Regions from separate parts of the Homo sapiens genome. Here all the other regions are linked to region 3. Evidence: promoter capture Hi-C in human tissues and cell types (Jung and others, 2019). All regions are on one chromosome and are shown on one strand. Each heading gives the region's core, a stretch centred on a gene start or on the middle of the fragment in contact. The rest is flanking DNA. Distances are from core to core; before and after follow the strand shown.

Region 1 (3,669 bases), core at 409-2,908, 310 kb after region 3:
TGTCCAGACGAGGGAGGTATGAAGGTACACATCCACTCCTACCTGCTCCCCTCCCTACCTTCATTACCCTCACTGCTGACCTTTGTCCCTCTTTCCCAGGAACACCCTAGGTAACCAATGGAGGAAATCTGTTGGAGTTGAGGGCCAGGCTGGCAAATATGGGGCACATGGTGCCACTCCTGCCTTCCTTGTCAGTGGCAGACATTGCTAATCGATTGAGGGACTCTTTGTCACCAAACTCTCAGAATCCTTAACCCAGTGTTCCAAGCAGCCACGATGATCTGATGAGCTTGTGAGCTGATACCTATTCTCTGATCCTTGAGCTAGAAGAGGGCCAGTGGGCCCAGATCCTAGGAGCCCTGGCTTCTTGCCATCTGGCAACAGGGTATGGCTCACCCCCCACCCCGTCCTTCCCTCCTTCCAGGAGGCCATGCTCTACCACAACCAGACCGCCGAGCTGCGGGAGCTGCTGGAGTTCACCCACATGTACCTGCAGTCAGATGATGAGGTGAGTGCCTCCTGCTTTCCAGGATTGGGCTGTGATGGGGACACCTTGGACCTTTTCCTGGGGCCACCAGTGTGCCAGAATTCAGCCCCAGCCCCTGGTGGTCAGCTGTCGTGAAGAAGAGAGGTTTGCCTGTTCCTTGTCTAGACTGTCCGTTCCTTCCCCAGCCTTAGTATTCTCATGTCCTCCTTTTGTACATGTCTCAATCCTGTTCCTCCCAGGCCCAGCTCACATGGTGCCTCCTCCAGGAAGCCCTTGCTGCATGCCCTGGCTCTTTGTTCTGGGCTAGCAGTGCCCACTCTGACCTGTGTGCCTCCCTGGCCACCTGTGGCCTGGACCTGGGTGATTGCAGCCCTCGTCCATCTCAGCCCTGGGCCCCTTCTCCAGCCAGTATCCAGGAGAACCGCACTGCAGGACACAGGGCCACATTATTCCCTGTTCTCCCACATCCTGCACAGAGCCTGGGCTCAGAAACTGAGTTTGAATGAACCAGTGAATGAATGAATGCAGGACCTCAGGACAGAAGGACCGTATTGTATTACATTGATTTATTTTATTTATTTATTTATTTTTTTTTTTTGAGATGGAGTCTCGCTCTGCCGCCCAGGCTGGAGTGCAGTGGTGTCATCTCAGCTCACTGAAACCTCTGCCTCCCGGGTTCACACGATGCTCCTGCCTCAGCCTCCGGAGTAGCTGGGATTACAGGCGTGCACCACCACGCCTGGCTAATTTTTGTATTTTTAGTAGAGACAGTGTTTCACCGTGTTGGTCAGGCTGGTCTCGACCTCGTGACCTCATGATCTATCTGCCTCGGTCTCCCAAAGTGCTGGGATTACAGGCGTGAGCAGCCGCACCCGGCCCTATTAACATTGATTTCAAGTGAGGGTTTGACAGCCTTAATTTCTCTGAGGTGTTGCTGCTCAGTGCTCATTTATGTATCCTCTCCTTTGTTCATGCCCCCACGCCCCCACCCATCCAACCCCAGAGGAGGAGGGCAGAATCTACACCGTCAGCACCCAGGATGAGGAACTAGCCAGACCTGGCTCCATTACTTACCAGTTGGGTGGCCTCCAAACAAGTGTCAGGCAACCTCTCAAGCTTCTGTTTCTTCATCCATTGAATGGGGAGAATCATGCCCATCTCACATTGTTGTGGTGAGAATAACACAAGATCTGGCCGGGTATGGTAGCTCATGCCTGTAATCCCAGCAATTTGGGAGGCCGAGGCAGAGGGATCACCTGAGATCAGGAGTTCAAGACGAGCCTGGCCAACATAGTGAAACCCTGTCTCTATTAAAAATACAAAAATTACTCAGGTGTGGTGGTGGGCACCTGTAATCCCAGCTACTGGGGAGGCTGAGGCAGGAGAATGGCTTGAACCAGAGGCAGAGGTTGCAGTGAGCCGAGATCGCGCCACTGTACTCCAGCCTGGGTGACAGATTGAGACTCTGTCTCGAAAAAAGAGAAAGAATTAAGTGAGATCAAGTATGTTTTTTTGTTTGTTTGTTTTTGAGACAGAGTCTCGCTCTGTCGCCCATGCTGGAGTGCAGTGGCGTGATCTCAGCTCACTGCAAGCTCCGCCTCCCAGGTTCTCACGCCATTCTCCTACCTCAGCCTCCCAAGTAGCTGGGACCACAGGCGCCTGCCACCACGCCCGGCTAATTTTTTTTGTATATTTAGTAGAGATGGGGTTTCACTATGTTACCCCGTATGGTCTCGATCTCCTGACCTTGTGATCCACCCACCTCGGCCTCCCAGAGTGCTGGGATTACAGGTGTGAGCCACCACACCCGGCCTCAAGTATGCATTTTTCTTTTTTTTTTCTTGGAGACAGAATCTCACTCTGTCACCCAGGCTGGAGTGCAGTGGTGCGATCTCTGCTCACTGCAACCTCCACCTCTTGGGTTGAAGAGATCCTCCTGTCTCAGCCTCCGAGTAGCTGGGATTACAGTCATGCGCCACCATGTCCAGCCAATTTTATTTTGTATTTGTAGTAGAGACAGGGTTTCACCACGTTGGCCAGGCTGGTCTCAAACTCCTGACCTCAAGTGGTCCGCTTGCCTCGGCCTCCCAAAGTGCTAGGTTTACAGGCGTGAGCCACCGCTCCTGGCTGAGATCAAGTATGTAAAGCACTTGATAAAGAGCCAGTACCTGGTAGGTGCACAGTGAATGACAGCCGAGTCTCACTCTGTCATCCAGGCTGGAGTGCAGTGGTGCAGTCTCAGCTCATTGCAACTTCCGCCTCCCAGGTTCAAGCGATTCTCCTGCCTCAGCCTCCTGAGTAGCTGGGATTACAGGCGTGTGCCACCATACCCAGCTAATTTTTGTATTTTTAGTAGAGACATGGGGTTTCACCATGTTGACCAGGCTGGTCTTGAACTCCTGACCTCAAATGATCCACCGACCTCAGCCTCCCAAAGTGCTGGGATTACAGGTGTGAGCCACCACGCCTGGCGTATGGCAGCCATTTTGACGGCTGTCTCTTATTTCCTGTGGTTTGCCAGACACCAGACTAGGGGCTGGAGTAAGTTAGTGAAAGTCATGGTCCTGGCGGGGCACGGTGGCTCACACCTGTAATCCCAGCACTTTGGGAGGCCAAGGCGGGCGGATCACGAGGTCAGAAGATTGAGACCATCCTGGCTAACACGGTGAAACCCGGTCTCTACTAAAAATGCAAAAAATTAGCCAGGAGTGGCGGCATGCGCCTATATTCCCAGCTGCTGGGGAGGCTGAGGCAGGAGAATGGCGTGAACCCAGGAGGCAGAGCTTGCAGTGAGCCGAGATCATGCCACTGCACTCCAGCCTGGGCAACAGAGCAGACTCCGTCTCAAAAAAAAAAAAAAAAAAGGAAGTCATGGTCCCTTTCACGTGCCGCTCACAGTCTAGTGGGGGAAGCACAAACTGCTGCTGGAGAGGGCAGCACACGGCACCAGGGGAGGTCTCCAGCCCAGCCAGAGTCACCAGCAAGGGCTCAGCCTGGAACTGATGCCTGGCTTTGGAGGGATTAGTGCGGGCTACGCAGGCACAGGGGACAGCAGTAGTTCCTGGCAGGGAAACAGTATGAGCAAATATTATGCATGGACTAGCAATATTCTTGCCAGGGTCTTTATGCTTAAAAGGTGGGGCTGTGCAGGGGCGATGTTTATGCTGACACCAAATTCTGCT
Region 2 (4,073 bases), core at 36-2,535, 330 kb after region 3:
GGGGCTTCACCATATTGGCCAGGCTGGTGTTGAACTCCCGACCTCAGGTGATCCACCCGCCTTTGCCTCCCAAAATGCTGAGATTACAGGAGTGAGCCACTGCGCCTGGCCTGCCCCGTTTCTTTCATGCCAGGGCTGGATTTCCTTCAGATCTGCTGCTTGATGTTTCCAAGCCCACCAAAGCCTCCTGACACCAATACTGTATTTTTGTGCCAATTAATTGTTCTGTCTCTCCTCCAAGTGTTTGTGCCTTTTCTCTGCCCCTTCCCCATTGCCTTGACATTTTATGTCTATGCTCCTCTTCCATGAGGGGAACAGCTGGTTTGATGGTCCTTCAAATGAGAGGAAGGAGGTTCTAGCTTGGGGTGTGCCACTTTGTAGTTTTGTGACTTCTCTGAACTTCGGTTTCTTCATCTTTACAATGAGGGTCGTTTTCTCATCCTAACTATTTTTCAGAGCTGTCACAATAATTAAAAAAAAACATACCGTTAATTTAAATTTCTAACCTTTAGCAGTTTCTGAGTGCTTTCACAAACCTGACCTCATTTAATCCCCACATACTCCAGTGAGGTAGATATGGCTAATGTATCCAGTTTACAGAAGAGGAGAAACAGGGTGAAGTAACTTGCCTAAAATCATACCAAGTGGGAGAAGACCAAACCTGGCCTTCTAATTCTAAATCCCAGGAGTACTCCATCTTTCGGGAAAAAAATCCCACCCCAGCACAAAGCCTATGAAATGCTATACAAATATGTGATTACTACTTTGGGGCAAGGATGAATAAGCCCAAAGAAGCATCATGCCTGACGCTGAGTTGGCTGGCCGGTGAAGGCGTCTGTCCCTTCCCTTGGTATCCCTATGACTTACCTGTTGGACAGGTAGGGGGAAGGGGAGAGTAATGAGTCTCACCTGCTCAGAGCAAGGGTGGGGCAAGACACACCCCATCCCTTCCATTGGTTTTTTCCTTAGTCTTACTGACAGAGCCTTGTCCAATCAGGAGGAAGTAACTTTCTATCTGCCAATAGATGCAATGTTAGGATGAGACCTCAAGTTAGAGTCCATCCCTAGAGCCGACTGGCAGTCCCCGGGGCCAATGGCAAGCGGATAAACAGAGGCGGCCGTGGAAGAGGACTGGAGGCGAGGCTCCGCCCCTCCACGGGACAGTCAGGCGAGATAGCCAGTGAGCTCGCACCAGAGGGTGGGCGTCTCCCCCAGGGGCGGAGCTTCGAGGTGGCGAGGGGCGTGGCTTGGCTGTCAGGTCTCTTCGCCTTTTGTTCGGTTACTGAGTTGCTGCCTTGGCCAGAGTCCGGAGCAGCCGCCGCCCGACCACGCCGAGCTCAGTTCGCTGTCCGCGCCGGCTCCCACCCCGGCCCGACCCCGACCCGGCCCGGTCAGGCCCCATACTCAGGTGCGGGCTATCGGGGGCGCAGGTATCGTTGGGGACAGAGGGGTGGCGAGCGGCCGCGGGGCCGGTCCCAGCCGTCCCTGGGCAGGTGAGGGCCGGTGCCATCGAGCGCCACCCTGCACCGGCGGCAGGGGGCGCGCTGGGGTCCTGGGCGCGGCGACTTGGGGGTCGCGCGGTTCGGGCCGAGCGCGCCTCGGAGCTCCGCGAACCAGAGATCTGAGCAAGGCGGGGAGGGATCCGGACAGGTGCCTCCGGGGTCGCGCCTCCCCCGGGGCCCGCGCAGCTCGCCCGACGCCGCGTCCCTGACTCTCGCCCTGGGCTGGCGGGGGAGACTTTGCTCTGCTTCGACTGCGTCCCAGGGCTCACGCTGCAGTCAGGAATTTACCGTTTGGGGAACTTGCTGCCGCTGGTCTCTTTGGGGCCACCCTCACCCCACCCCACGCGTCATCCTCGCTTTCCCTCCCTCCCTACTCCCCCAGGCCTGGGTGGGGCCCTATTGTTTGCGCCCAGCTTGCCCAACTGTGGGGGCCGAGCGCACATTTTCCCAGCGACTCTGGCCCCACCTGCCGAGCAGGTGAGCGCACGGAGTCCAGAGGCCCTGCCCTCCAGCTCCCAGAGCCTCGTCGATACTACCTGCGGCGCCTCCCTCCACGCCGGTGGGAGCCCGGCTCTGGCTTCTTCAGCGGAGGTGGGATGGAGTGACTGGGGGGTGCAGGGCTCGGCTCAGTGTCCAGCTGGTGTCTGGCACCCGTGGCTCGCCCTGGGGTCTGGGGGGTGGGGTCTGTGCACGGATGAAGAATTCAGGGTCACCTGGCCCAGTTTCCAGTAGCTGTGGCTGCCAGAGTGTTGGTAGGGGAACAGGACCCGTCTTCTCTAACCTCTTATTGTTGGAAAAAATCACCCAAAACAAACTTTGCAGGAGGAAGTATTCACAGCAGCTTTATCTGGGGGTTTTCCCGTCTCCTTGCCCAAAACTTCCTTTAGGCTTAGGGGGTCCTTCCTGGTGCAAAACCCCTTCCCCCAGCCGGCCCCTGGCTGAACCTGGGCCGGTGCCTGGGCTCCGACCCTGTCTTCCCTGCCCCCACATTCATCCTGTTCGCTGGGCCCCAGGGGCCTGAGGTAGGGGCCGGGGTGGGGGGTGGAAAGTGCTGAGAGGGGAAGCAGCTTCTTCCTTCTCTTCCTGCCTCCTGGGACCACCACACCCCCTCAGACAAGGCCTGCGTAAGTGGTTGTCTCTCAAGCTCTGCCCCCTCCCCAGGAATGGGGGTGGGGCAGGGCTGGGCCAAACTGAGGAAGGTGGGGGGAGTGGTTGTTCTTGTCTTTTTTTTTTTGCCTCTACCCCATCCCCCACATTACTTAGCTGGCTGGTTATTGAGGCAGAAGCGCATGAGGCTGTGGGACTTGCCTTCCATTTGATTTCTGAATTGTGAAGGTGCATGCTTTCTGGAGGCCTGCACAGACCTTTCCCACCCGCTTTCCTGAAAGAATTTGACAGGGAAAGTGAGACCGCAGGAAGGCTTTTTGGGGGAAGGTTTCTTCAATGCTAGACTCTCTCAGGCAGAGCTGCATCGGGCCCCCTGCCTTCCCTGCTCCCAATTTCCTGAGACCGCCCCCCCCCACCCAGAATTGGGGATCTTGATCAGGGTTTGTACCCCGGTTTAAAAAAAAAATCTGAAATGTGGTCTTTTTGCAGGATTTGGAGCCCAGCCTCGTTGGGGAACAGAGAGAGAATACAACAGTTGGGTTCTCTCTCAGTCCTGGGGGTGGGAGAAAGATTGTGGGGGGCGGGGATCGAGAGTGCTTGGAGGGGAAGAGTCTACCACCTCTTTCTTTGTTGTAGATGGGGGAGTGAGGCTGGGGGCCCAGACTCAGCCCCTTTATCCTGGGTGGGGATCACGCTCAGCCCTGTGCTAGGGGGAAGTCAGTGTGGGAACTCAGATCCTTTTCTGCCGGGGGATGGGATTCTGCACCTCTGGGGAGCAACAGGAGCAGGGAGTTTGGGCAAAAATAACCTGCTTTCCCTCTTCTCTGTGCCAAGGTGGAGGAGGGGAGGGCATTGTAATTATGTTGGCTACATGATTAGTTTAGCTAATCTGGTTTGTGGCTGTGATGAAAAGATAATACTGAGGAAGTACTGCTAGGAGGTGCTTGGTGAAAACTGGCCACTGACTGGACTGGGGGATGCGGGGGAGGAGGAGAAGGTAGGACCCAGTTAGTCATTTCTTGCTAGATCAAGCCCCAGCTTGGGTGACTTGAGCCCTCCCACCCCCACTCCACCCCTCCCTTGCACCCTGGCTCCACCCCATTCCCTCTGGAGCCTCTGTTTGGGCTGCCAGGGCCGAGGCTTTGAGAATGCAGTGCATAGGAACGAAAAAGGTCGGGCTAGGGCTGCCAACCTTTTTCCCATCCTGGAGCCACCTTAGAGTGAGATGGGTCAATTGACTAGTCTACAGAAGGACTGTTTATTTGGAGAGATGGGACAGTGGGGCAGTTCTGAGCACAGGGCTTTGGGCTTGAACTGAGCTGGGTTTGAGACCCAGCTCTGTCTCTCATTACCTGAGCCTCAGTGACCTCTTTGGCAAAATGGGAATACTAATACCTATCTACCCAGTAAGTACTTGACAAACGGTAACTCAAGATCAAGGTAAGACTTTACAGAAACCAAGCA
Region 3 (3,673 bases), core at 113-2,612:
AGTGCCTGGCCCTTCATGGAGCCTGTGAAGAAGTCGGAGGCCCCTGACTACTACGAGGTCATCCGCTTCCCCATTGGTGAGGACCTTCCATTCCATCCCCTTCCCTCCTCTTCTGTCCCCACACCTGCTCCTGCCCTCACTGCGCCCTGCAGCCCCAGGGGGCCCACCCTGGTGGACAGCCCTGCCGTGGTCTTCAGCCTCTTAAAGCTGTGCTCCGTCTCCTGCTGCCCCAGACCTGAAGACCATGACTGAGCGGCTGCGAAGCCGCTACTACGTGACCCGGAAGCTCTTTGTGGCCGACCTGCAGCGGGTCATCGCCAACTGTCGCGAGTACAACCCCCCGGACAGCGAGTACTGCCGCTGTGCCAGCGCCCTGGAGAAGTTCTTCTACTTCAAGCTCAAGGAGGGAGGCCTCATTGACAAGTAGGCCCATCTTTGGGCCGCAGCCCTGACCTGGAATGTCTCCACCTCGGATTCTGATCTGATCCTTAGGGGGTGCCCTGGCCCCACGGACCCGACTCAGCTTGAGACACTCCAGCCAAGGGTCCTCCGGACCCGATCCTGCAGCTCTTTCTGGACCTTCAGGCACCCCCAAGCGTGCAGCTCTGTCCCAGCCTTCACTGTGTGTGAGAGGTCTCCTGGGTTGGGGCCCAGCCCCTCTAGAGTAGCTGGTGGCCAGGGATGAACCTTGCCCAGCCGTGGTGGCCCCCAGGCCTGGTCCCCAAGAGCTTTGGAGGCTTGGATTCCTGGGCCTGGCCCAGGTGGCTGTTTCCCTGAGGACCAGAACTGCTCATTTTAGCTTGAGTGATGGCTTCAGGGGTTGGAAGTTCAGCCCAAACTGAAGGGGGCCATGCCTTGTCCAGCACTGTTCTGTCAGTCTCCCCCAGGGGTGGGGGGTATGGGGACCATTCATTCCCTGGCATTAATCCCTTAGAGGGAATAATAAAGCTTTTTATTTCTCTGTGTGATTGTTTCTTTGGTGTAGTCCCAGCCTTAGCAGGCTCACCTTGGCCCCCAGGGACCTCTTGCAAACTGGAGGCTGCTCTCCCCAGCAAGCCTCAGGCCTGGTCCTGTGCTCCTGGGGTGATGGGTCCTACCTGCCTGCAGCCCCCCACCTCTCCCTCCTCCAGGCTGCTCCTGATCCAGATGCCAGGGCAGCAGGGGTCAGAACCTCCTGCCTTCACCTTAACCTGGGTGGATGTGGTTACAACTGACTGCAGAAGGGCCAGAGCGTAGAGGATCCTGTAGCACTGAAAGAGTGCTTCCCTGTTAGCACACGTGGTTCTTTTTCTTGGGGCAGGGATAGGAGATTCGTAAGTCGGCTCAGCTGGCTCCTCCCCTCAGTTTCAGTTTCCATTTCTGATTTCTGCTCTCTGCGCTGAGCACAGCGGCACCAGGCTGAGCTAAGCAGGGCCGCCTTGGGCAGGCCTACGTGGTGGTGCAGGCGAGACCCAGGCTGGGCAAGGCGCAGGTGTAGCCTGTGTTACTCCCACCCCCCCCCACCCCCACCTTTTGGCCACAGCAGGCTTCTGATGAGTTTTGAGGGTGTCCCCCCCCCCACCTCCCTCAAGTGGGGTGGAGTCCTGGGCAAAGGGAGGTCTCTGTACCGACTGCTCTGGCCAGGAGTTGGGATGAGTGGAGGGCCCAGTGGGTCTGAGTCCCCTGCCATTCCCAGAATGGAGCTGTGGCCCTACCAATGGGAGGTGATCATGCCTGCCAGGGCGCTGGCGCAGCAGCAGTACTTAACCGGAGTTTGTACTCACGGCAGTTGGCGATGACTGTTAGCACAAACGGTTCTTTTCTCTTGGTTCTTTTTCCTGGGGCGGGGATGGGAGATTCCTAAGTCGGCTCAGCTGGCTCCTTCCCTCAGTTTCAGTTTCCATCTTGGGTCTCTGAGCTGAGCAGAGTGGCACCAGGCTGAGTTAAGTGGGACTGCCCTGGGCAGACCTACCTACTAGAGCAGGTGAGTCCTGGGCTGGGCAGGGGGCAGGTGTAGCCTGTGTTACTCCCGCCTCCCCCTTTTGGGCAGAGCAGGGTCCTGATGGGTTCTGAGGGAGTCCTGCCCCACCTCCCTCAAGTGGGGTGGAGTCCTGGGCAAAGGGAGGTCTCTGTACTGACTGGTCTGGCCAGGAGTTGGGAGGGGTGGAGGAGTCGGTGGGTCTGAGTCCCCTGCCATTCCCAGAATGGAGCTTCGGTCCTACCAATGGGAGGTGATCATGCCTGCCCTGGAGGGCAAGAATATCATCATCTGGCTGCCCACGGGTGCCGGGAAGACCCGGGCGGCTGCTTATGTGGCCAAGCGGCACCTAGAGACTGTGGATGGAGCCAAGGTGGTTGTATTGGTCAACAGGGTGAGTGGTCTGTCCCTACCCCGCTCTCCCACCACCAAGCAGGGTCTTAGCTCTTCAGGCATCTCCCAGTCCCCACCAGAACTCCAAAGCTGCTGTGGCCATCGCTAAGCTCACCTGTCTTTCCACCCTGGCTCAGTACCCAGCCATGTCCTGCGGGTCACCTTACCGCCTCCCTACCCCTGGCCCCAGATTCAGCTCTCTTTTCCCAGCTCATTCTCCACCCCCAGGTGCACCTGGTGACCCAGCATGGTGAAGAGTTCAGGCGCATGCTGGATGGACGCTGGACCGTGACAACCCTGAGTGGGGACATGGGACCACGTGCTGGCTTTGGCCACCTGGCCCGGTGCCATGACCTGCTCATCTGCACAGCAGAGCTTCTGCAGATGGCACTGACCAGCCCCGAGGAGGAGGAGCACGTGGAGCTCACTGGTGAGGGCCATGGCCGGGAGGAAAAAGATACGCATCTGGGGTACCTCCTTTCGCCAACCCCAGGGCACCTCCTGGAGTCAAGGTGTTGGGAGTTTTAGTGGGAGTGAGGGGTTGCCTGTTCACAAAACCCCTGCAGGCACTCTAGTAGAAACAGGCCGGGCTATCGTGTAGGATCTTAGGCCAGTCCCTTCCCCAGCTGAGCCTCGGTTTACTAATCTGTGAAATGGAAAGAAGTCTTCCCTGCCTGGCTCCTCATCCTGGGACCAGCTGCAGGTTGTGAAGGGAAGAAGGAATTCTTACATCATTGTGGGGACTACTTGAAAGCTGATGGGAGGAAGGGCTTTGCAAACATAGGTCACAGCCTTCCCCCCTGTGCCCTCAGTCTTCTCCCTGATCGTGGTGGATGAGTGCCACCACACGCACAAGGACACCGTCTACAACGTCATCATGAGCCAGTACCTAGAACTTAAACTCCAGAGGGCACAGCCGCTACCCCAGGTGCTGGGTCTCACAGCCTCCCCAGGCACTGGCGGGGCCTCCAAACTCGATGGGGCCATCAACCACGTCCTGCAGGTCAGCCTGGCCCCTGTGGGCCTCCCACTGCCAGACCCACCAGGGACTTCCCTCCCTCCCTGCCTGCCCTGCCACTACCCCGTCCCCACCAGCCCTACCAGGCTCTCCATGGCAGGGTCTGGCCCCTTCCTCACCTAAGACCCAGCCTCCAATGGTTTCTTATGGTACAAAGAATTAACTCCCGACTCTACTGTGGTTTACAAAGTTCCACGTGATCTACCTCTCCACCTCATTTCCTGCGCCCTCCCTGTTGTAGCTCATCCTACAGTTACACTGGCCTGCCTTCTGCATGTTGAACATGTAGGGCTTGTTCCATCTCG
Region 4 (3,565 bases), core at 729-3,228, 410 kb after region 3:
AGGCTGCCCACCACCCCTGGGCCCAGGCTGGGCTGTCAAGGACAGAGAGTAGTGGCTACCCTTACTCTGGCTTCCGCTTCTCTCCTGAGCCTCCTCTCTCCTTTTCTCCTCTGATGCCCACCTGTGCCTTCGAAGCAGTGGTTCTCAGCCCAGGCTTTGTATTTGGATCACCTGGCCTCAAGTGATCCTCCCTCCTGGCCTCCCAAAGCCCTGGGATTTATAGGCATGGGCCACCACGCCTGGCCTAACAGTGGTTTTAACTGGGAAAAATAATCCTAAAGGCCCCTCTGTGAGAGGATGAGAGGAGTCTTTATTCGGGTGTGTTCCAGGCTGAATGGCTCATCCCCGGCCCAACAGGTAGGAGGTGAGGGAGCTGAGTTGGGGAACCCCCGGGTCTTGGACTCCATGTGCTGCTGCCTCTTCTCGGCCCACAGCTTCCCATCCCACCCTCTCCAGAAGCCTCGCTCCTGCTGAATCTGTCTTCACTGTGACCTCCAGCTCCTCCACTGTCTGGCTCCTCCCAGCCCGCCTACCCCTCCCAGGGTTTGTCATCTCAGTTCTGTGTGATGCACATAGATTGCTGCCCCTGTCCTGCTTCTGAACCTGCCAGGCTGGTCCCAGGTCCCTGACAGGCCACCCCGACCCCTTCCTCAGCTCCTGCCACTCCCTGCAAAAACCGACAGGAAGTTTCCGAAAGTGACCAGTTGATTCAATTGCAAATTAATATTCTGCAGCTTGGTTGTTACTGGCAACTGTGGTGAATCATTTCTCTTTCATTCCCAAGGTCATTTGACGTCAGCCCCCTTTTCCCCACCGTGAACACAGCTGCCTAAGTCCCGCTTCCGTCCTTTCCTCCTTTCCTCCATCGCTGGAGGTTCTGTCACCCCATTCAGTGTCAGCCCCTCCACCAGGGCCCATCATCCCAGACCCTCCTGCCTGCTTAGAGACCGTGTGCTTTCACTCTTTCATTCACTCATTCATCCATGCATCTGTTTACTCAACACAAATTTTCCAAGTGCCTGCTTTGTGTCAGGCACTGTTCTGACCCTGGGGACACAATGGTGATCGAGGGGGGTCTTTGTTCTTTCTCTTCCCTTTTCTTTGTTGTCTATTGAGCCCAGGAGTGGGGTGGGTTGGAGTGACACATGGTGGGCTCAAGGGGCCATGGGGGAGGTTTGGATGGCTGGTTATGCCTATGACCTCGCTATTGAGAACGTTATTTCAGAGAAGGTAGAAGGATCAGTGCGTTTCTTCAAGCTTTACTGAAGTTTTGCTGCATATATAAACCCACCTGATTCCAAATGATCCCTGGCAGACGGCAGAGGTCATTTCTGTCCACGAGCCAGAGAGATGCTGCCATGTGGCAAGGGCAACACCCCTGCTCATAATGTGCCCACCCAGCCAGCTTTGGAAATGATGCAATTCTTTTTTTTTTTTTTTTTTTTTTTTTAAATAAGCCATTTAGCCAGGCGCAGTGGCTCATGTCTGTAATCCCAGCACTTTGGGAGGCTGAGGCAGGCAGATCACTTGAGAACAGGAGTTCGAGACCAGCATGGCCAACATGGTGAAACCCCCGTCTCCAATAAAAATACAAAAATTAGCTGGGAGTGGTAGCGCATGCCTGTAATCCAGCTACTCAGGAGGATGAGGCAGGAGAATTGCCTGAATCCAGGGGGTAGAGGTTGCAGTGAGCCGAGATCAGACCACTGCACTCCAGCCTGGGCAACAGAGTGAGACTGTCTCCAAAAAAAAAAAAAAAAGCCATTTATTTAGATATTGTTTATATACCATACCTTTTGCCCTTTGAAAGTATACACTTCAGTGGCTTTTATATTATTTACTTTCTTTTTGAGACAAGTTCTTTTTCTTTTTCTTTTTTTTTTGAGACGGAGTCTTCTTCTGTCACCCAGGCTGGAGTGCAGTGGTATGAACTCAGCTCACTGCAACCTCCACCTCCCGAGTTCAAGTGATTCTCCTGCCTCAGCCTCCCAAGTAGCTGGTATTACAGGCGCCCATCACCACATCTGGCTAATTTTTTGTATTTTTAGTAGAGATGGGGTTTCACCGTGTTGGTCAGGCTGGTCTCGAACTTCTGACCTCAAGTGATCTGCCCGCCTCGGCCTCCCAAAGTGCTGGGATTACTGGCGTGAGTCACTGCGCCTGGCTGGGGTCTTCTTATATTGCCTAGGCCGGTCTTGAATTCAGGTGATCCTCCTGCATTGGGCTCCCAAAGTGCTGGGATTACAGACTTGAGCCACTGTGCCCAGCCAAAGACAGGTTTTTTGCTGTGTTGCACAGGCTATTCTCTAACTTCTGGGCTCAATGATCCTCCCACCTAAGCCTCCCAAGTAGCTAGGACTGGAGATGCAAGCCACCAAGCCCAGCTTCAGTGGCTTTTAGTTCACACATTTGTGCAACTATCACCATTATCTAATTCAGAACACTTTCATCACCCCACACCCATTTGCAGTCATTCCTCATTCCCCCTTTTCCCTGGAAACCACAAATCTACTTTCTGTCTCCAAGAATTTGCCTATTCTGAGACTTTCATTTAATTGGAATCATACAATATACGGCCTTTTGTGTATGGGTTATTTTACTTAGCATGATGCATTTGTGATTCATTCATGTTGTAGTATACATCAGAACTTCATTCTTTTTTTTTTTTGAGACAGAGTCTCGCTCTGTTGCCCAGGCTGGAGTGCAATGGCAGGATCTCAGCTTACTGCAACCTCCGCTTCCTGGGTTCAAGTGATTCTTCTGCCTCAGCCTCCCAAGTAGCTGGGATTACAGGTGCCTGCCACCACGCCCAGCAAATTTTTTGTATTTTTAGTAGAGACGGGGTTTCACTATGTTGGCCAGGCTGGTCTCGAACTCTTGACCTCAGGCAATCCACTCGCCTCGGCCTCCCAAAGTGCTGGCATTACAAGTGTGAGCCACTGCACCCGGCCTTTTTTTTTTTTTTTTTTGAGACAGAGTTTCGCTTTTGTTGCCCAGGCTGGAGTGCAATGGCGCGATCTCGGCTCACTGCAACCTCCGCCTCCAGGGTTCAAGCGATTCTCCTGCCTCAGCCTCTCGCGTAGCTAGGATTACAGGTGCTCACCACCACACCCGGCTAATTTTTATATTTTTATTTATTTTTTATTTTATTTTATTTTTTTTCGAGACAGCGTCTCACTCTGTTGCCCCGGCTAGAGTGCAGTGGTACGATCTTGGCTCACTGCAACCTCCGCCTCCCGGGTTCAAGTGATTCTTCTGCCTCAGCCTGGCCAGCATGGTGAAACCCCGTCTCTACTAATAATACAAAAAATTAGCTGAATATGGTGTCGCGTGCCTGTAAGCCCAGCTACTCGGGAGGCTGAGGCAGAATAATTGCTTGAACCTGGGCGGTGGAAGTTGCAGTGAGTTGAGATTGCGCCATTGCACTCTGGCCTGGGTGACAAGAGTGAGACTATCTCAAACAAAACAAAACAAAACAAAACAAAACAAAGAAATGGTGCCAAATCTTATTTATTAATTTAGAGACAGGCTCTCTCTCACTCCCGTTGCCCAGGCTGGTGTCCAG
Region 5 (3,807 bases), core at 1,308-3,807, 280 kb after region 3:
TGAACTGGGGAGGCGGAGTTTGCAGTGAGCCGAGATGGCGCCATTGCACTCCAGCCTGGGTAACAGAATGAGACTCATCTCAAAAAAAAAAGACAAAAATCAGATCTCTCAAGAGCAAAAGGAAAAAAAAAAACAAAACAAACAAAAAAAAAAAAGAGAGAAAAAAGGCCCTGACCCTAGTCATGCCTCTTCAGAAGGCAAAGGAGCCAGGCAGGAGCTCCTGCCTGGACCAGAGTTGGCCAGGCACAGTGGTAATCCCAGCACTTTGGGAGACTGAGGCAGGAGGATCGCTTTGGGCCAGGAGTTCAAGACCAGCCTGGGCAACATAGCGAGACTCCCTCTCTACAGAACATTTCAAAAGTAGCCGGACGTAGCAGCATGTGCCTGTAGACCTAGCTACTTGGGAGGCTGGAGTAGGTGGATTGTTTGAGCCCAGCAGTTGAAGGCTGCAGTGAGCTATGATTGCATCACTACACTCCAGCCTGGGTGAAAGAATGAGAGCTTATCTCTAAAAAAAAAATTTTTTTTTAATTTTTAAGGAGCCCAGAGCTTTGACAGTGTCCCTAAAGTTAAGGTGATGGGGTGGGAAACAGAAAATGGATCAAAGTGTCTCAAAATGAGCCCAATTACCCCTTTGGCTGAATTTGGCAACCCTGTTATACCTAAAGTAGGAACTGCAGCTACAGAGGATGTTCTTATGGGCACTGAACTCAAAGCCATTGACCTTGATGACCACGTCGCAGAGCTTGCCCTCTAGTCTAAGCTCGTTGAAGATCTCACAGGCCATCGCACTCATCTTCCTCTCCATGTGAGGCTGGTGGAAACGTGTGGAGGCCGCCGCGCTCTCCATCTCCATGGCACCCTGGGACAGCGGAGAGAGGCTGCTTTCCTAGGGTGTCGGGGAGGGTTGTGGGGGGCCCCTTTAGCCAGCTGTCGCTCCTTTTCCCTACTACATCTTTTGTATAGGGTCTATCAGGCAACCCAAGTTCCAGAATCCTGGCCCTGCAGTGAGATCACACAGGATTGTGCTCTCAGGTTCTGGAACTGCCTCCTGGACTTGTCCTCTTCCTTCTCCCCTCCTTACCACCCCACTTAGGCTGAAAACCACCTCACACCTCCTTCTGTGTCCTTGAACCCAAAACAGAACCATGACCACTAGCACCATCTGAGTGTTTATTGATTCCAGCTCCTGTTACTCACCTGATACAGGTCTCTATCCCTGGAGCATTCATCTACCTTCCACAGCCCAACACTTGGCTCCCTAGACACCGAACTCAAGGAAATCCAAGTCAATTGAGGCTGAAGGGAGAAGTAAAACTGATTAAATTTCTTTCTTAGGCCGGGCGCAGTGGCTCACACCTGTAATCCCAGCACGAGGTGGATGGATCACAAGGTCAAGAGATCAAGGCCATCCTGGCCAACATGGTGAAACCTCGTCTCTACTAAAAATACAAAAATTAGCTGGGCGTGGTGGCACATGCCTGTAGTCCCAGCTACTTGGGAGGCTGAGGCAGGAGAATCGCTTCAACCCAGGAGATGGAGGTTGTAGTGAGCCGAGATCGCTCCACTGCACTCCAGCCTGGCGACAGAGTGAGACTCCATCTCAAAAAAAAAATCTTTCTTTTTCTAGGGACGGGTCTCGCTCTCTCACCCAGGCTGGAGTGCAGTGGTGTGATCATAACTCACTACAGCCTCGACCTCCTGGGCTTAAGTGATCCTCCCACCTCAGCCTCCTGAATAGCTGGGATTACAAGTGCTCCGCACCGTGCCCAGCCAACGCTGATTACATTTCAGAAAGCTGTCCCGGGTCTCCCAGCCCGCTGGATGGGTTAGTCACTCAGTTTCTTCTGGAATGAGGAATGGCCTAGTTAACAGAGCCCTTTCTGGGTGATTAACAGAATTCAGTTTATGGCTCCTTCATCTCTCCTCCCATCCAGCCGTGTGGTTTTTCTGTTTTTGTTTCTGAGACAGGGTGTCATCTGTCACCCAGGGTGGAGTGCAGTGGTATGATCTCGGCCTACTGGAGCCTGGATCTCCCGGGCTCAAGTGATCCTCGTGCCTCAGCCTCCCGAGTAGCTGGGACTACAACAGGTGCGTGTCACCATGCCCGGCTAATTTTTGTATTTTTTGTAGAGACAGGGTTTCGTCATATTGCCCAGGCTGGTCTCGAACTCTTCGGCTCAAGCGATCATCCTGCCTCGGCCTCCCAAAGTCCTGGGATTACAGGTATGGGCCACCGCGCCCAGCCCCAGTCATGTTTTTGTCACAAACTTTCAGCCTGGAAATGACCACGTTTGGCAAGGCTTTTCCTCCACAAAGAGTGGCAGAACCCTACCTACCCACGTAACCCCAACACCTTGGGACCTTCACCCTGCTCTTCATAATAAATAGAACCCTCCTCCAGTTTGCCTAGCGCAACCGGCAAGCCCACCCGGATCGCGGCCATCTCCGGGACCGCTCGATTCTCGGCCCCACCCCCGCCCCGCCCCCGGCCCCACCAACCCCCGCCCGGGCTCCAGGCGGGAGGCGACGCCTGCGCAGTGCGGTCGCGGGGCTGTCGTTGTCCCGCGAGCCGCCGACCAGGCCTCGAACGGGATGGCAGAGGAGGTGAGGAGGGAGGAAGCGTCCGGAGTGGGGCGGGCCCGGACTCCGACCCCCGGGGCGCTTCGAGCCCCCCAGCTGGTCACCGAGGCACCGCCGCTTCACCCAGGCCAGTAGCCGCCCCCTCGCGCACCCCGGCCCCGCCTCACACGCGCGCCCGAGCGAGCCCCGGGCTCCCCTCGGGCCCAGCGTGGCGCAGGGGTCAGTGGTTCTCTCGGGTCTCGGGACAGGTGAGCACCCTGATGAAGGCCACGGTCCTGATGCGGCAGCCTGGGCGGGTGCAGGAGATCGTGGGCGCCCTCCGCAAGGGCGGCGGAGACCGGTTACAGGTACCTCTGGGGCGTGCGGGGGCCGGCCGGGCTGGGGGCGGCTGGAGAGGCTTCCTGCCCATTGGGCCTTCCCGCTTTGCTCTGCCGCGGACCCCTCCTAGCTCTCTGCCCCAAGAAATGGCCGGGAGCTTGAAGGAGAGCGGGTTGGTTCGCCTGTCCTAAAACCCAAATTTCAGATTTCTCAATATGGTCATGCTGCTTCCTCTAATTGGACAGAAGGCGCCCACACCAGTACCTAGGGCCTTATCCTCCCCAAGCCAGCGGCTCCCCAGTAAGTTGAAGATGTCCAGATGGGCCGTAATGGTAGAGATCTCTTAGGAGGGACCTGATATTGAAGGAGTCAGAGGGGTCCTGAGTATTCACCCTTGCCCCCACACTAGGAGACTGCGTTTTCCTCAGGGTTAACGGGTACTAATTAGGATCACTTCCCCTCTATCCCTCTGTGTCACTCGGTAACTCCCCTAGGGCTTTGCCTACATCCTGGCCACTGAGCTGTATTGATTTCCATAATCATCCCCCAGGCTGAGGCAGGGCCACACTAGAATTCTGGTGCCTATTTAGGCATCATCTCTCTTTTGCCTTATAGGTGATTTCTGATTTTGACATGACCTTGAGCAGGTTTGCATATAATGGAAAGCGATGCCCTTCTTCTTACAGTAAGTCACATTCTAGCTTCCCTTGTTGAGCTTGACAAGACGATGGGTTCTAAGGGACAAGTAAAAGGAGTTTTCTCTTTTTCCAGATATTCTGGATAATAGCAAGATCATCAGTGAGGAGTGTCGGAAAGAGGTGGGTTGCTCCCGTCCTTTGCTCAGAAATGGTTGTCATTTGCTACTTCAAATGGTTCCTGATTGGAACCAAAGATTCCAGTATAGAG

The links. The method cuts DNA at HindIII sites, captures the fragments that hold promoters and counts their contacts. A contact is called where the count stands out against the background at its distance.
Region 1: a contact is called between a fragment that was not itself captured here and the fragment with the promoter of DHX58 in region 3, in 1 of the 25 tissues and cell types used here (H1 embryonic stem cells).
Region 2: a contact is called between the fragment with the promoter of JUP here and the fragment with the promoter of DHX58 in region 3, in 2 of the 25 tissues and cell types used here (lymphoblastoid cells and stomach).
Region 4: a fragment that was not itself captured here is called in contact with the fragment with the promoter of DHX58 in region 3 in 1 of the 25 tissues and cell types used here (IMR-90 fibroblasts).
Region 5: a contact is called between the fragment with the promoter of NT5C3B here and the fragment with the promoter of DHX58 in region 3, in 1 of the 25 tissues and cell types used here (IMR-90 fibroblasts).

The regions. Positions count from the first base shown.
Region 1 is chr17:41,803,635-41,807,303 of GRCh38, reverse strand. It overlaps P3H4 (prolyl 3-hydroxylase family member 4 (inactive)), which reads left to right. Exons shown (of 8, transcript NM_006455.3): 6 at 425-508. Among named protein-coding and RNA genes, the nearest start is that of P3H4, 6.5 kb to the left of the region's middle. The HindIII fragment of the contact is 7,644 bases long and covers 1-3,669 here.
Region 2 is chr17:41,783,923-41,787,995 of GRCh38, reverse strand. It overlaps JUP (junction plakoglobin), which reads left to right and starts at 1,285. Exons shown (of 14, transcript NM_002230.4): 1 at 1,285-1,408. RefSeq lists silencers at 1,317-1,616, 1,781-1,993. The HindIII fragment of the contact is 40,774 bases long and covers 1-4,073 here.
Region 3 is chr17:42,110,403-42,114,075 of GRCh38, reverse strand. DHX58 (DExH-box helicase 58) reads left to right here and starts at 1,362. Exons shown (of 14, transcript NM_024119.3): 1 at 1,362-1,471; 2 at 1,871-1,963; 3 at 2,183-2,351; 4 at 2,579-2,780; 5 at 3,163-3,353. The coding sequence starts at 2,184. KAT2A (lysine acetyltransferase 2A) reads left to right here. Exons shown (of 18, transcript NM_021078.3): 17 at 1-76; 18 at 234-965. The coding sequence ends at 427. RefSeq lists enhancers at 995-1,514, 1,755-1,854. The HindIII fragment of the contact is 12,117 bases long and covers 1-3,673 here.
Region 4 is chr17:41,702,845-41,706,409 of GRCh38, reverse strand. No RefSeq gene overlaps it. Among named protein-coding and RNA genes, the nearest start is that of GAST, 7.7 kb to the left of the region's middle. RefSeq lists an enhancer at 566-1,358. The HindIII fragment of the contact is 6,214 bases long and covers 1-3,565 here.
Region 5 is chr17:41,834,982-41,838,788 of GRCh38, reverse strand. It overlaps NT5C3B (5'-nucleotidase, cytosolic IIIB), which reads left to right and starts at 2,557. Exons shown (of 9, transcript NM_052935.5): 1 at 2,557-2,607; 2 at 2,832-2,930; 3 at 3,517-3,586; 4 at 3,673-3,719. The coding sequence starts at 2,596. KLHL10 (kelch like family member 10) reads right to left here and starts at 964. Exons shown (of 5, transcript NM_152467.5): 1 at 663-964. The coding sequence starts at 856. RefSeq lists an enhancer at 1,954-2,033 and silencers at 2,454-2,833, 2,964-3,073. The HindIII fragment of the contact is 24,571 bases long and covers 1-3,807 here.